Linked DNA regions of Homo sapiens: region 2 is linked to region 1. The links are contacts of gene promoters, found by promoter capture Hi-C in human tissues and cell types (Jung and others, 2019). All regions are on one chromosome and are shown on one strand. The core of a region is centred on a gene start or on the middle of the fragment in contact, and the rest is flanking DNA. Distances in the headings are between cores, read along the strand shown. Region 1 holds the start of CORO2A (coronin 2A). Region 2 has its middle 8.5 kb from the start of GABBR2.

Region 1 (6,714 bases), core at 1,231-3,730:
GAGGAGGACACTCCCCAGCCACAGCAACCCCAGGAAGGGTCCCAGGTTCATTGCAGAGGTCTCCCTCTGGCTTATGGGTCCATATGCCCACAGCCCCCAGAGATGTCTCTGTCAAACCAGCTGTTCCCCAAACAGTCCCAGCCACCAACCACCATGGCACAGGGTAGGAAGATGCAGGTGCAAGCCTTGGAGGGCACATCCATAGGACATCTAGGAAGGCTAGGCCTGGAAGGATGAGTGGGTTTAGACAAGGGAGATGATGATTTGGGAAGAGAACTGCAGACAGAGCAAAGGCTCAGAGATGTCAGAGTGCAAGGCGAGTGGCATTGGCAGAGGTAGAAAGCCACACCAGAGATGCTGGCCCAAGCCCTAAGTGAATTAAGACATTCAAGGCCAGGCGTGGTGGCACGCACCTGTAATCCCAGCACTTTGGGAGGCCAAGGCAGGCAGATTGCTTGAGCCCAGGAGTTGGAGACCAGCCTGAGCAACGTGGCGAAACCCTATCTCTACAAAAAATATAAAAATTGGCTGGGCATGGTGGCACGCACCTGTAGTTCTAGCCATTCGGGAGGCTGAGGTGGGAGGATTGCTTGAGCTTGTGTGGTGGAGGCTGCAGCAAGCTAGGATTGTGCCACTGCACTCCAGCCTGGGCGACAGAACAAAACCATGCAAAAACAACAACAACAAAGTTATTCAGATGCCTTAGCCTGGGAAAGATCATGGTGCCCACCGTCCAGCTGTAATTCAAGTAAAAACCAAACCATGATTATAAAGAATTCCCACAATGTTCTGATTTCATCCATATGTTTGTTTGTTTGTTTGTTTGTTTGAGACAGAGTCCCACTCTGTAGCCCAGGCTGGAGTGCAGTGATGTGATCTCGGCTCACTGCCACCTCCACCTCCTAGGTTCAAGTGATTATCCTGCCTCAGCTTCCCAAGTAGCTGGAACTATAGGCACATGCCACCACGCCCGGCTAATTTTTGTATTTTTAGTAGAGACAGGTTTTCACCATGTTGGCCAGGCTGGTCTTGAACTCTTGAGCTCAAGCAATCCACCTGCCTTGGCCTCCCAAAGTGCTGGGATTACAAGCATGAGCCACTGCGCCCAGCCATCCATATGCTTGATACCCAACTCTTGCACGCTAACACCAGAAGCATGCGTTCAGTCTACCTGCTGGGCAATCCAGCTCCAGAAGGTCTGAATCAGAGCTGTAGGATGGGGTTTTCAGGACCATAGTGCACACTGGGCTTTGGGTGGTAGGCAGGGAGCCCGTCCAGCTCTGGGCAGGGGGGTGGTACAGTGGACTATGGAAGCTGAGTCACATTCTAAGGAGAGAATCAAGAGCTCCCTAAGTACCTTGCCACTCCAAGCCTCAGTTTTCTTATCTGTAAAATGGAGGTAATAATAGTGGCTAAATAAAGCCACTATTATTAGAAGCTTAGAAGAAACGATACAGATATGTAAAGTAGTAACAGTGTACTCTGTTATCCACTCCACAACTATATATTGAGTGGTTACTATGTGCCACGGAGCAGTTCAAGGCCCTCAAGATAACCCGTCTCTACTGAACAAAACCAAGAGCTCTTCACAGACGTGGTGTGGAGTGGAGTGGCTGTTAGCTTAGTAGCCGTGGGAGCCATACTGCCTGGGGTTGCATGACTAGCCGGGTGATCTTAACCTAGGTACTTAATATCTCTGTGCCTCAGCTCTTTTGTGTTAAATAGGTGAGTAATGGTATCAACCTCATAGGCCTGTGTGACAGTGAAGCGAGGTAATGCACAGAAGGCGCTTAGAGGAGTGCGTGGCTCAGTAGTGTTAGGTGGGGGTGGTACCCAAAGGTAGGGCCTCCCCATTGTCTAGTGTCCTCAGGGCTCTCCAGCCAGCGAGGCTGGCAGCAGCGCCCCCGGCTGGTCCCGAGAGAAGGAAGGGCGTCCTCCTCGGTTCCCAGCGGCGCTCCCGGCTCCTCTCCTCCCTGCGGACGGGGAAGCCTCGGTAACCGCTGTAACTGCTCGGGGAAAGGAGCGCTTCCCTGGCCGGGCTCGGCGCGCGCACTGTACCCGGCCGGGATCGTCACATCCAGGGCTCAAACAGCCTTAAGAGGCCGACGCGGTTACTGTCTCCATTTCACAACGGGGGAAACTGAGGCTCCGGGAGGTCAGGTTCCTCATCCCACACCACGCAGCGAGGGCACGGCGCGACGTGGGGCCCGCGGCTCTGCCTGTCCCCAGCCTCCGCCTGGTGGCCGGCAGCCCGCCCCAATCACTGCGGCGTGTGCGCGCCTGTTCCCAGCACGTGTGCGCGCCCCGAGACCCGCCCCGGGGAGCCAGGAGCGCGGTCGGGGTCGTGGGGGCGGAAAAGGGTGGCCAGGGCGGACCCGCGGGGCGGGCAAAAGGGCGGACCTTGGGCCAGGCCCCCGCCCCGCCCTCCGGCCCCGCCCGCCGGGCTGCAGGGGGAGGCGGCGGCGGCTCTGGGCGCCGGGAGTCGGCGGGCGGCGAGGAGCGCGGAGCCGGAGCTGGACGCCGCCGCCGCCACCGCCACCTGCGCGGCAGTCATCAAGGTAGGGCGGCCCTGCGCCGCCGGCCGTGCCTTCCCGGTCTGCGCGATGGGGGCGTCGGGCGGGACGTGCGCGCTGCGGCTGCAGCTCCCGGAGAGGGAGGGATGCGGGGCTCGGAGCGCGGGGGACCTGGCTTTCAGCCCCTTTGCGTGACCTTGCACAAAGCACTGCTCCTCTCCAGGCCTCAGTTTCCCCGTCAGGATAGCTTGCTCATTGGTGGCCCCCTTCTCGCGGGGTTGTTGGGAGGGGCCGCCTCGAGGTCCGGGCTCCCGACGGCTCGCTGCCCTCATGAGCACTGTCTGCACCGCCCACCCCTCCTGCCCGCGGTGAGGGAAGCTCACTCTGGGCGCGGCCAGCCGGTCCCGACAGGCCCCTGCTGTGGCCCGGGTGCTCCATGGGACTCTTGTCGGGACCCTCCCCCTCTTGGCTGCGTTACCTGCTGGGCCTCAGCTTCCTGGTACAGGAAACGGTGGGGTGGGGGGCATCCCCGGGTCCCCGCCAAGCCGGCCTGGGCGTGCATGTGGGGCATCAGCCGGCCCGCCAAGAGGGTTTACTCGTCTGGGGCTGGAGGAGCCCTAGGTTGGAGGTGGCTGGACTCCTGGCGGCACGACTGCCTGGACCAGCCCCACGTAGGCACCTCGATTTAGAGAGTGGTATAGGATAGCTCCTTCCCCTTCCCCACCCGGGCCAGGTGCTGGTGCCTAGCTCTGTGTCCCAGAGCTAGTGTGTGATAAGGTGTGACACACACTAGCTGGTGTGACAAGGGGTGACTGGCGGCCACGCCTGGACCTCAGAGGGGTGACAGTGCCAAGGTGCTGTGTCCGCGTGGCATTAAGGGATGGGGCAGAGCACAGGTCTGAGGGACTGTGGTCCCAGGCTCCCTAGGTAAAGAAGACCTATGGCATCTGGCCCAGCCCCTCTGTAAGATCCCCTCTGGAAGGTCTTGCTGCCCCCTTGCACACTCCTTGTGATAGGAATCTCACTAGTTGTAAACCAAGCTGGAATCTGCTACCCAGTCACTGCCTCTCCTGCTGGTCCTGCTCTGGACACACAAACAACCTCTGACCCTTCCTCCCTCACCCTGGGGCAGTGGTCAGGTCCCTTAAATATGCTCATCTCCAGACCCAGCAGCCCCAGGCCCAGCAGTTTCTCCCATCAGATCCCAGGGAGCCAAGGCAAGAAGAGGGAGCCGAGGTGTCTGCCCTGGAGCAGGCTGTGGGGCCTCCGCTTTCCTGGGGCTTGTTCAGAACCCACCTGTGCATCAGGACTGGAATGTGTCTCCCCAGCTTCCTGCCCCTCCTGGGGACCGTCTGAGAGGTCCGGAGTGAGGAGAGCCGGAGCCCCTCTGCAGGCCTTTCCTGCCCCATGGGGCCTCTTCTCCACCTCCCTGATGCCTGCCCTGTTTGAGGGAGCAGTTTCTAGGAATCACTTCTCAGCCTCCTGGTCTTTCTTGTCCCCTTCATGACCTGCCCTGCACCCAGGGATTTTCTTAACAGCCAAAAGAGGGCAGGAGGCCCCTGGACAGGTAGTGAGCTCTTTGTCATCACAGGTATTCAAGCAGAACCTGGGGGTGAGCTACCTTGGACTGAAAGTCTATGGAATTCTAGGGCTGAAGTAGTGCCTATGACCTTGCCCTGCGGCCATGGTGGAGCTGCACAGGACTGGGAGCTGGACCACAAATGAGTGTTATTATCCCCTCGTAAAAGCAGGCAAAGTATATGTGCTGGCCCATGAGCCCAGCTCCGACGCACAGGCTTAAGTGCTACCTGGGTCTCCTGTCATCTCGACACATGTATAATCTGGGCCCTGTTTTCCTGCTTGCCTAATTCAAGCCTTTTTGGCCTGATTTAGGAGCATGGCAGATTCTGGTTATTAAAAAGTCATGCTATGACTTTAATTGCTAATACTTTTTAAATGCACCATGGAATCATGGAATGTCTGAGCTGAAAGGAGCCTTCAGACGTCGTCTCATTCAACCCCCTCATTTTACAGATAGGCATCCCCTGTCGCCAGAGGGGATGTGACTGGGCAAAGGTCACACAGCAAACCAGCAACCGAGCCCAGGGATCCTGATTCCAAGATTGGAGTGCCTTTTTTTCTCCAAAAAAACACATAACATATAATAAATGAAAGCAGTCTGTATTTATTCCTGTAAAATTAGCAAAAATAAAAATAAAAAGATGAAACTCTGTGCTGGCAAGGCTATAGGGATTCGCCTGTGGCATTTAATTTTGCAGAGCAACCTGGCAGCCTGTTATCATGAAAATGATCATATTTGCCCTTTGCCCTTAGCCGGCTACTTTGGGGACTTTATCCTAAGGAAGTAACTAGGGAGAGAGACATATGTAGTGCTGTTATTTGTAAGAAGTTGTCTTCTGGCCAGGCACAGTGGCTCATGCCTGTAATCCTAGCACTTTAGGAGGCCAAGGTGGGCGGATCACCTGAGGTCTAGAGTTTGAGACCAGCCTGGGCAACATGATGAAATCCTGTCTGTACTAAAAATATAAAAATTAGCTGGGTGTGGTGGCACATGCCTGTAATCCCAGCTACTCGGGAGGCTGAGGCAGGAGAATCACTTGAACCCGGGAGGCAGAGGTGGCAGTGAGCCGAGATTGTGCCACTGCACTCCAGCCTGGGCGACAGAGCGAGACTCCATCTCAAAAAAAAAAAAAAATAAAGGAGTTGCCGTCTAGTGAAGAAGTGTTCAGTTTTATCTGAGGCTTAATAAACATTTCATTTGACAAATACAGCTTAAAAAATAGTGGCACTGAAGCTTACATTACCGGAGTCTGGCCAGCATAGAAACAGTTTAATCCAGAAGAAAGACCATGAGACTAAAGTCAGCAGACATAGATTCCAGATTGAAGTCTTCCTCTTCCCTACTGTGTGACCTTGGGCCGATCCGTTCCCCTCTCTGGACCTCACTTTCTCCATCTGTGAAATGGGGGTAGACTCAGCAGTTGCTGAATTTGTTTGAGCTCTGACAGCCAACCTCTTAGAGTGAACAAATCTCAGTAGCAAAGCCGAGATTGGAAGGAGATTCATTAAATGAATCCCCTTAGAGGCAGGTAGCTAGCTCCCCACCGAGGGGTTTCAGCCTTAAACCTTTGCTATTTCAAAATGGCCAGAAGCTGGATCGTTTTAGAAGTTGGTGTGTTTTTATCTTCTCTGCCAAATCTCAGGAGGTCCAGAAAATAATTCAGCAGAATCTTCTTGTGTTTTAAGTCTATAATCCATGCCTTGCCTCCTTCAGAACAGATTGGACGTGCTTTGCAATCACACCTGGTCTAAAGGGCCAGGAGTAGGTGACTTTGCTTCTGTGGTCAAACTGTGCCTCCTGGGGGTCTGCAGGCTGCTATGGGAAACTTACTAGGTTAAACCACATGAAACGGCCAGTATGTGACTTTTTTTGACTTACAAGAAATGGCAATTTCATTTGGTTCAGCCTAAATGGAAAAAGATATACAGGTATTTAAAGAGCGGTGTGCTCCTTACTATAATTGAGAGATTGGCAGGGTGTGGTGGGGACAAGGAAGGTGTGATTATGAGCTTGCAGAAGTCAAGGAGGAGGGACATGGGAGCCTCACTTTGAAGAATCACTAACAGTAATAATAATAGCTAACATTCATTGAGGGTTTACCGCCTGCCTAATTCTGTCCTAAGTGCTTTATGTTCATTCATTCCATTAGTCATTCAGCCAGTATTTATTAAGCACCTACATTGTACTAGTTTTTTTGTTTGTTTCTTTTGTTTTGTTTTTGTTGTTGTTTTTTGTTGTTGTTGTTGTTTTCTGAGACAGAGTCTCGCTCTGTCTCCCAGGCTGAAGTGCAGTGGCATGATCCCGGCTCACGGCAACCTCCGCCTCTGCCTCCTGGGTTCAAGTGATTCTCATGCCTCAGCCTCCTGAGTAGCTGGGATTACAGGTGCGTGCCACCACACCAGCTAGTTTTTGTATTTTCAGTAGAGACGGTGTTTCGCCATGTTGGCCAGGCTGGACTCGAACTCCTGACCTCAAATGATCCGCTTGTCTCGGCCTCCCAAAGTGCTGGGATTACAGATGTGAGCCAACACACCTGACCTGTACTAGGTATTTTCTAAGTGCTGGGGAAAGGGGGAAGGCGCTGATATTAAACAAAATAGACCAGAAAGATCTTCCCCC
Region 2 (6,714 bases), core at 1,923-4,422, 530 kb before region 1:
GGTGCTGCAGTGAGAGGGATGGAACTCCAGGGCCTCTGACTCTCTTCTGGATTGTGTTTTGAGGACCTCCAATGTGCCAGTAAATCAACTGACTTCCTCAGAGACTCACACCCAGCATCAAACAACGTCCAGAGAAGAACATGCAAGCCGCAGGTCTCCTCATCCAAAGAACCAGCAAAGAAACAGTATGAGGCAACAAGCACCCCCTTTCAACAAAGGGGAGTCAATAATATGAAAAGTTACAAAATCAGTTGTTTACTTAACCTTCAAGCTGTGGTGTGGTGGAAAAGATTGGCTGGCCGCTTAAATCCAAAATTACTGTCCAAAGTTTGTCACTATTCCAGTGCTGTCTTGGGCAAATCGTTCAACCTCTCTGAGACCCCATTTTCTCTTCTGAAAAGTGGGCATACAGATGCCTCACATAATTATTAAACATAATTACATGCAATGATATATGCAAAGGGTAATATACCCTAGATTGCACTGAAAAGATATTAGCCTCAGGTTGGGGAAGGGCATGACCCCTGAAGCTGCCTGCACTTTCCTTTGCATGATAATCTGTAGCTCCCCCAGACTCTTTTTTGTTGTTGTTAAATGCAGTCTCGCTCTTTCGCCCAGGCTGGAGTGCAGTGGTGTGATCTCGGCTCACTGCAACCTCCACCCCCCGGGTTCAAGTGATCCTCCTGCCTCAGCCTCCTGAATAGTTGGGACTACAGGTGCATGCTACCACACCCAGCTAATTTTTGTATTTTTAGTAGAGATGGGATTTCACCATCTTGGCCAAGCTGGTCTCGAACTCCTGACCTCAGCTGATCTGCCCACCTCAGCCTCCCAAAGTGCTGGGATTATAGGTGTGAACCACCGCGCCCACCCCCACACCAGATTCTCTAAAGTGTTCCTAACAGCTCCCCCTCCCAAAGTTTAGAGACACTGACATAGTTTTTTAAAAATTTATTTCTATATAAGGTTAAATCTAATATTGAGAAAGACCAGAGCAGAGATAAAAAGAAAATTGAAACAGAAAAAAACAATAGTAAATATAGAAACCAAATATGGTGGGTTGGTTGCTCTTTTGTTGTTGGAGTTTTTTTAAATGAACTGAACTTGTCATCCTCTGCACAAACTTCACAAAAGGAAAAGAAGAAAAGGATAAAAATAGAAACAAAAGCAATAACAAAATGGCAAAATGATATAAGAACCTTTTTTTAAATAAAAGGAATATATGCTTATGGTAAGAGATAATTCAAACAGTATAGAAGGGTATGAAGTGAAAAATAAATCTGTTTTTACCCTTCCAGTTATTCCTTATCCTTAGACTTATTAGCCAGAGTGTGCCACTTGACAGAAAGAAACTTTATTTATTGTTTTTTTCACATTGCAAGCTATGGTATCCTTTCTGAAGGAGAAGATGGAATTTAGAAAATTCCCAGAGGCATCTCATTTGCTAAAAGATAATGAACATCATATGAAAGAATTAAGTGCTTTCCTGGATCCTGACAAAATAAAGATATCAATCAAAGAAACTCCCCAAAGGAAGTCCAGATGGCCATGCAATTGAACTTTATCATGCTCATCGGTTTGGCAATCCCCATGCCCTTGAAATACCCAGGAAAACCACCCAACAGAAAGCAATACCTGATACATGCAGTGATTCTTTATAAAGCCAACCTGAAACTGGAGGAAACCTTATAAAACTGCTACCTTGTTCAGTAATCCTAATGAACACAGGAGCAAACTTTCTCCTCAACCAATCCTCTAAACGTAGCCACAGATCCATCTGAATTCATGGGGTCTTGTGCAGGCAGGATAGTGCAATATCTTGCACAATATATGAGAGTATCATTCATCATATAAAGTGGATCATCCCAAAGCATTTGACTATGTTGTAATTCCAAACTTCAGAAGCATGTGAAAAATCAATAGGACACTGCTATGGTCCCAGTGTTTGTGTCCCTGTAAAATTTGTAGTAAAACCAGCTGGGCGCAGTGGTTCACACCTGTGATCCCAGCACTTTGTGAGGCCGAGGCAGGCGGATCACTTGAGGTCAGGAGTTTGAGACCAGCCTGGCCAACGTGGTGAAAACCCATCTCTACCAAAAATATTAAAAATTAGCCGGGTATGGTGGTGCATGCCTGTAATCCCAGCTTCTCGGGAAGCTGAGGCAGGAGAATCACTTGAACCTGGGAGGCAGAGGTTGCAGTGAGCCGAGATCGTGCCACTGGACTCCAGCTTGGGTGACAGAACAAGGCTCTGTCTCAAACAAAACAAAACAAATTTGTGTTAAAACCAAATCCTCACTGTAGTGGTATTAAGAGGTGGGCCCTTTAGGAGGTGATTGGGTCATGGGGGCTCCACCTTCTTGAATAGGATTAGTGCCCTCATGAAGGAGGCTTGATGGTGACTTCTGTGTCCTCCTTCTACCATGTGAGGACACAGAAGGCACCATCTACAAGGAACAGGTCCTTGCCAGACATCAAGTCTGCTGGTGCCTTGCTCTTGGACTTCCCAGCCTCCAGAACTGTGAGCAACAAATTTCTGTTTGTAAATACCCAGTCTAAGGTATTTTGCTATAGCAGTCCAAATGGACTAAGACAAACATACTGGCCTTTACCTAAACTGTCTATACAATTTGAAAGGCTGAAATATTAAGAAATGGGCAAAAGGTAACTGAAATACCACTAAAGTCAGATGCCAGCCTATCTGTGTCCTTTGTTATTTAATATAACATAGAGTGGTGGTGTGGGCAGGAGAAATAACTGATTTCATTAGGAAAAAGCAAATTAAAAGACTCACTGTTGTTACTCAAAAAGAGAGGCTTGGAATGAGATTGGCACAACAGGATGCTACTGCTTTCTATCACAGCATGCTCCTGAAAACCAGGCCATAAATCAGATCCTTGAGAAGCAAATCCTATTTACCCAATAGGAATGATGTTATAATTGAATGAAGCTTGCTTTGCTGATCAAGGATTGGGCATTAAACTAATCCTATGTAACTTCTCCTCCCCTGCCCCGATGCGAGCTGACATGACAGCCAGCCACAAGGAAGAGAGACTTCTATGGCTCTCTCCAGCCCTCCACCACTGTCTCCTGGGCCTCAGCACCTCAGGAGGAAAGGGTAACTCTTTCAGCCTTGTGAGGAACCTCATGAAGAACCACACTAGGAGGTCTTCCCTGCCACATCACCTCCCATGACTTAGTAAATGTTCAGGTACTAGTGAACGGTGCACATCTCTTCATTGAACAGATTGCTGACTTTGTGCATGCCTATGGCCTCACACATGAAAAGGAACACAGAATTGTAGACAACTAACTATACAATGCAGTGTGACAAGCTTTTCTAGAATATGCTGAGATAAAAATGAAATACTGTATTTCACTGAATCTTAAACACCATTATTTTATGTATCAACAAGAAAGAAAAAGAATACTTCCAACTATAAGATGCCATCAATGGCAAAGTGCATCCTGATTCCAGAGATGAATAAGAACGTGTGTGTTAGAATGGTGAAATGTGGTAATTAACTTTTAAAGAAATGATAAGTATTATCTGTCAGCATGAACCAAGCCTTACTATGGATGCTGAGAAAAGGTAGCAATTATTTCTGCTGGAGTGACTGGAGGAGATATCACAAAGGAGGTGACATTTGACCTGAGTTTTGAAGGATTTTGTCAGTGGGAGAAAGAGTGGGAAGAGTGTTCCAAGTTGAAGGAATAGAATGAGCAAAGGTATGGAGGCAGAAAAGGGGTTCATGTTTATGGGCCAGCTAATATATTCTACGTAGTTAGAATATAAAAGGTGTGGGGAGAGAGAGCTGGTTGCTAAAGCTGGAAACATTGGAGCCACATTGTAAGTGGCTTGTAATACCAGGCGTGGGAGTTTGTACCCCAGAGGTTATAGGGAGCCATCGAATGTGTTGAGCTGGGGGGTGACAAGATTTGGAAAAGTCAGTTTGGCGGGATAAATGAAAGATAGCATGGAGAAATGTAAGAATAGACGTAGGAATATATACAAGTGAGACTGCAACCAGCCACGTTGGGGGTGGGTGGAGAGAAAATCATATACTCAGATCTTTGTGATGATGTCAGATTTTTAAAAGTGCAATAAAGGCAATAAGTGCCAAGGCTACCGCTAACTCTCCATTTTTACAAACAACACTGTAAGTGTCCTTGTACATCTCTCCTTAGGGGCCTGCAGGAGAGTTTCTCTGAAGGATATATGCTGTACAGCAATGGGAATAAAAGATCTACAATCATATACAACAATATGGATAACTTTCACGATGTTGAGTGAAAGAAGCCAGGCACAAAAGGACAGATGGTGATTCCATTTATATCAAGCCCAAGAAGAGGCAAAACCCAATCTACAGTGTTAGCAGAGTCAGCATGGTGGTCACCCTTGAGAAGGTGAGTGACTGGCCAGCAACATGACTTTTGGGTGCTGGTAATGTTCTGGTTCTTGATGGTGATTACATGGGTGTGTTCACTTTGGGAAAATTCATTGAACTGTCTGTTATATTTCAATAAAATTTATGAAACATACTTAGGGCCATGGAGAGAAACTGAAAGTCAGGATCTGGAATGGAGGTATCAGGAAGCTGTTGGACCCTGCAAGCGCTCAATCCCAGAATGACCTGAAGCGTTGGGATAATGCCATGGACCACAAAAGGGACTTTGTGTGGTGCATTAGGAGAAAGCGTGGACGTTTGTTGAAAAGAATGCAGAATTTTCTCATCTCCAGGCCTGTAACAGAGGCACACAGGATGTATTGGGTGGAGAATGACCAGCAAACAGGAGATAGTGGAGCAAGCATAAAATGAAAGATGAGGAGACTGTTAGAGGGCACCTAGAAGCTTTCAACGAGCCTATGTCTCCAGGGCCAGATGAAGTACCTGTCAAGACAGCAGGACACTGTAGCTAGGATCCAGAAAGAGCATCTGAAGGATCTTTGGGAGATGAGTGAAAGGGAGGGTTAGGTGGCAGGGGATGCAGCAGGGTTCAGGTTTCCTAAGAGCCTAAAATGGTGACTTCAGCAGTAGGGGATTTGGGTGTTTATTGTCAGCAGCGTTTGAGAAGAGCTGATTGGATAAATGATGTGTGATCACACAGAGGAGAGCAGTGCTCCCTACGGTGGTTGTGTTCACCAAGAGCCAGCCCAGTTACGACCACCCTTATTCATGGAGTTATTCATCTGACAGGTCAGAGAAATTAAGAGGTAGCATGTATCAGGGTTTCAGCCGGGCTTTAGCAAGGCTTTTCATGATTTTCAGGAGTGCAAGACAGAGAAATGAGGACTGCAGAATGTGGAAGTTGGGAGCAATTTTCAGTAGGTTTAATTGTAGAACCAGAGGCGGCAGATGACCCCCAGTGTGGGCAGTCACAGGGTGTGTCTTTGGCATTCTCCTATTTAACATTTTGACTAATGCTATAGGATGAGAAAGAAAATCCTATTGTGCAATGACAATGGCATTAACTGAGAGGGATGGTGAATATGAGTGATAAGAGACTCACCACACAAGGATGCCTTCAACAGGCTGCAACATCAGGACATGGTCAAAGGTGAAATGTTTCAATCCTATTCAGAGGCCTCCAAATTAAACGGCTGATAAGTAATGTTAGAGAGATGTGGCTTGCTGTTCTTTTGAAGCATCAGCAACAATAACCCCATAGAAAACAAACCTAGGGTTCTTAGAGAACCACAAGCTTCCTATAAGCCAAAGGGGTGATGCAGCTGCTAGCAAAATGTGGGTAAATCTGGACTATAAGGACAGTGGGGACAGCAGTCACAGGTGTGAGCACAGAAGGGCAGCCATGCTCTTCTACATCTTTCTTGGCCCAGGTGGAGGGTTTTGTGGTTGGTTCTGGGTAATGTCTTTGAGGAGAGCCATGAGCAGACTCTAGACTTGTGGCCAGGGGAGGTTTGGGGGCATTTCTCCCAAAGAAGAAGACTTGGCTAGAGGTGGAGAGTGAGGGGGTGCCTAGGAACTACCTCTGGGAAGGAACTGCCATGGGTGAGAGGGAGTGCTGTGGACTCCTGCAACAGGTTAAAACCCGGTAAAAGCTGTAGAAAGGCCTACTGGTGGAGCCTAAGAAAAAAATGTGTGAAAACCTCATGAATCAAGTAATGAAGTGGGAACCTCAGCAGGCACTGATCTTGCCATCTTTAGCAGTAATATAATTATTTATTACATGCCTAATAAGTACCTAGTACTGTGTTAAGAACTTTATATGCATTATCTTAATAAGGGAGATAATTACATGTAAAGTGGTTTAAACAGTGTCTGGCACATGTGAATGCTCACTATGTGTTAGCTATTGTCATTATCTAATCCTCACAATAACCCTATGAAAGAGGAACCTTTATTGTTCCCAGTTTACAGATGGAGAAAATGAAGCTCGGGAAGTTAAGTAACTTACTCAAAGTTGCACCACTAATACTTAGCAAGCCAGAATTTGAGGCCAGGGCTGCCTGACTCCAAAACTCACCACTGTCCCTAAGGGGTAAAGAGGGACTCATATGTTTGGAGGGGTAGGAAAAGAGGCTTCCTAAGCCTGTTCTTCGTCTAAGGTTCTGTTCTAAAACTCTCCCTCTTGTCCATCCTGGGTCCCCTTTGTTAATAATCTAATTGTTTTTGAAACCTCTAAATGAGAGAGGATTTAATCCCTGTTGCCAGTCTGTGTTGTTCTGGAGACCACCCAATTACAAGCTAAATG

What was found. The method cuts DNA at HindIII sites, captures the fragments that hold promoters and counts their contacts. A contact is called where the count stands out against the background at its distance.
Region 2: a contact is called between a fragment that was not itself captured here and the fragment with the promoter of CORO2A in region 1, in 2 of the 25 tissues and cell types used here (IMR-90 fibroblasts and mesendoderm cells).

What each region holds. Positions count from the first base shown.
Region 1 is chr9:98,188,403-98,195,116 of GRCh38, reverse strand. CORO2A (coronin 2A) reads left to right here and starts at 2,480. Exons shown (of 12, transcript NM_052820.4): 1 at 2,480-2,558. RefSeq lists silencers at 2,151-2,700, 2,771-2,820 and an enhancer at 2,973-3,627. The HindIII fragment of the contact is 8,969 bases long and covers 1-6,714 here.
Region 2 is chr9:98,714,106-98,720,819 of GRCh38, reverse strand. No RefSeq gene overlaps it. Among named protein-coding and RNA genes, the nearest start is that of GABBR2, 8.5 kb to the right of the region's middle. The HindIII fragment of the contact is 4,212 bases long and covers 1,067-5,278 here.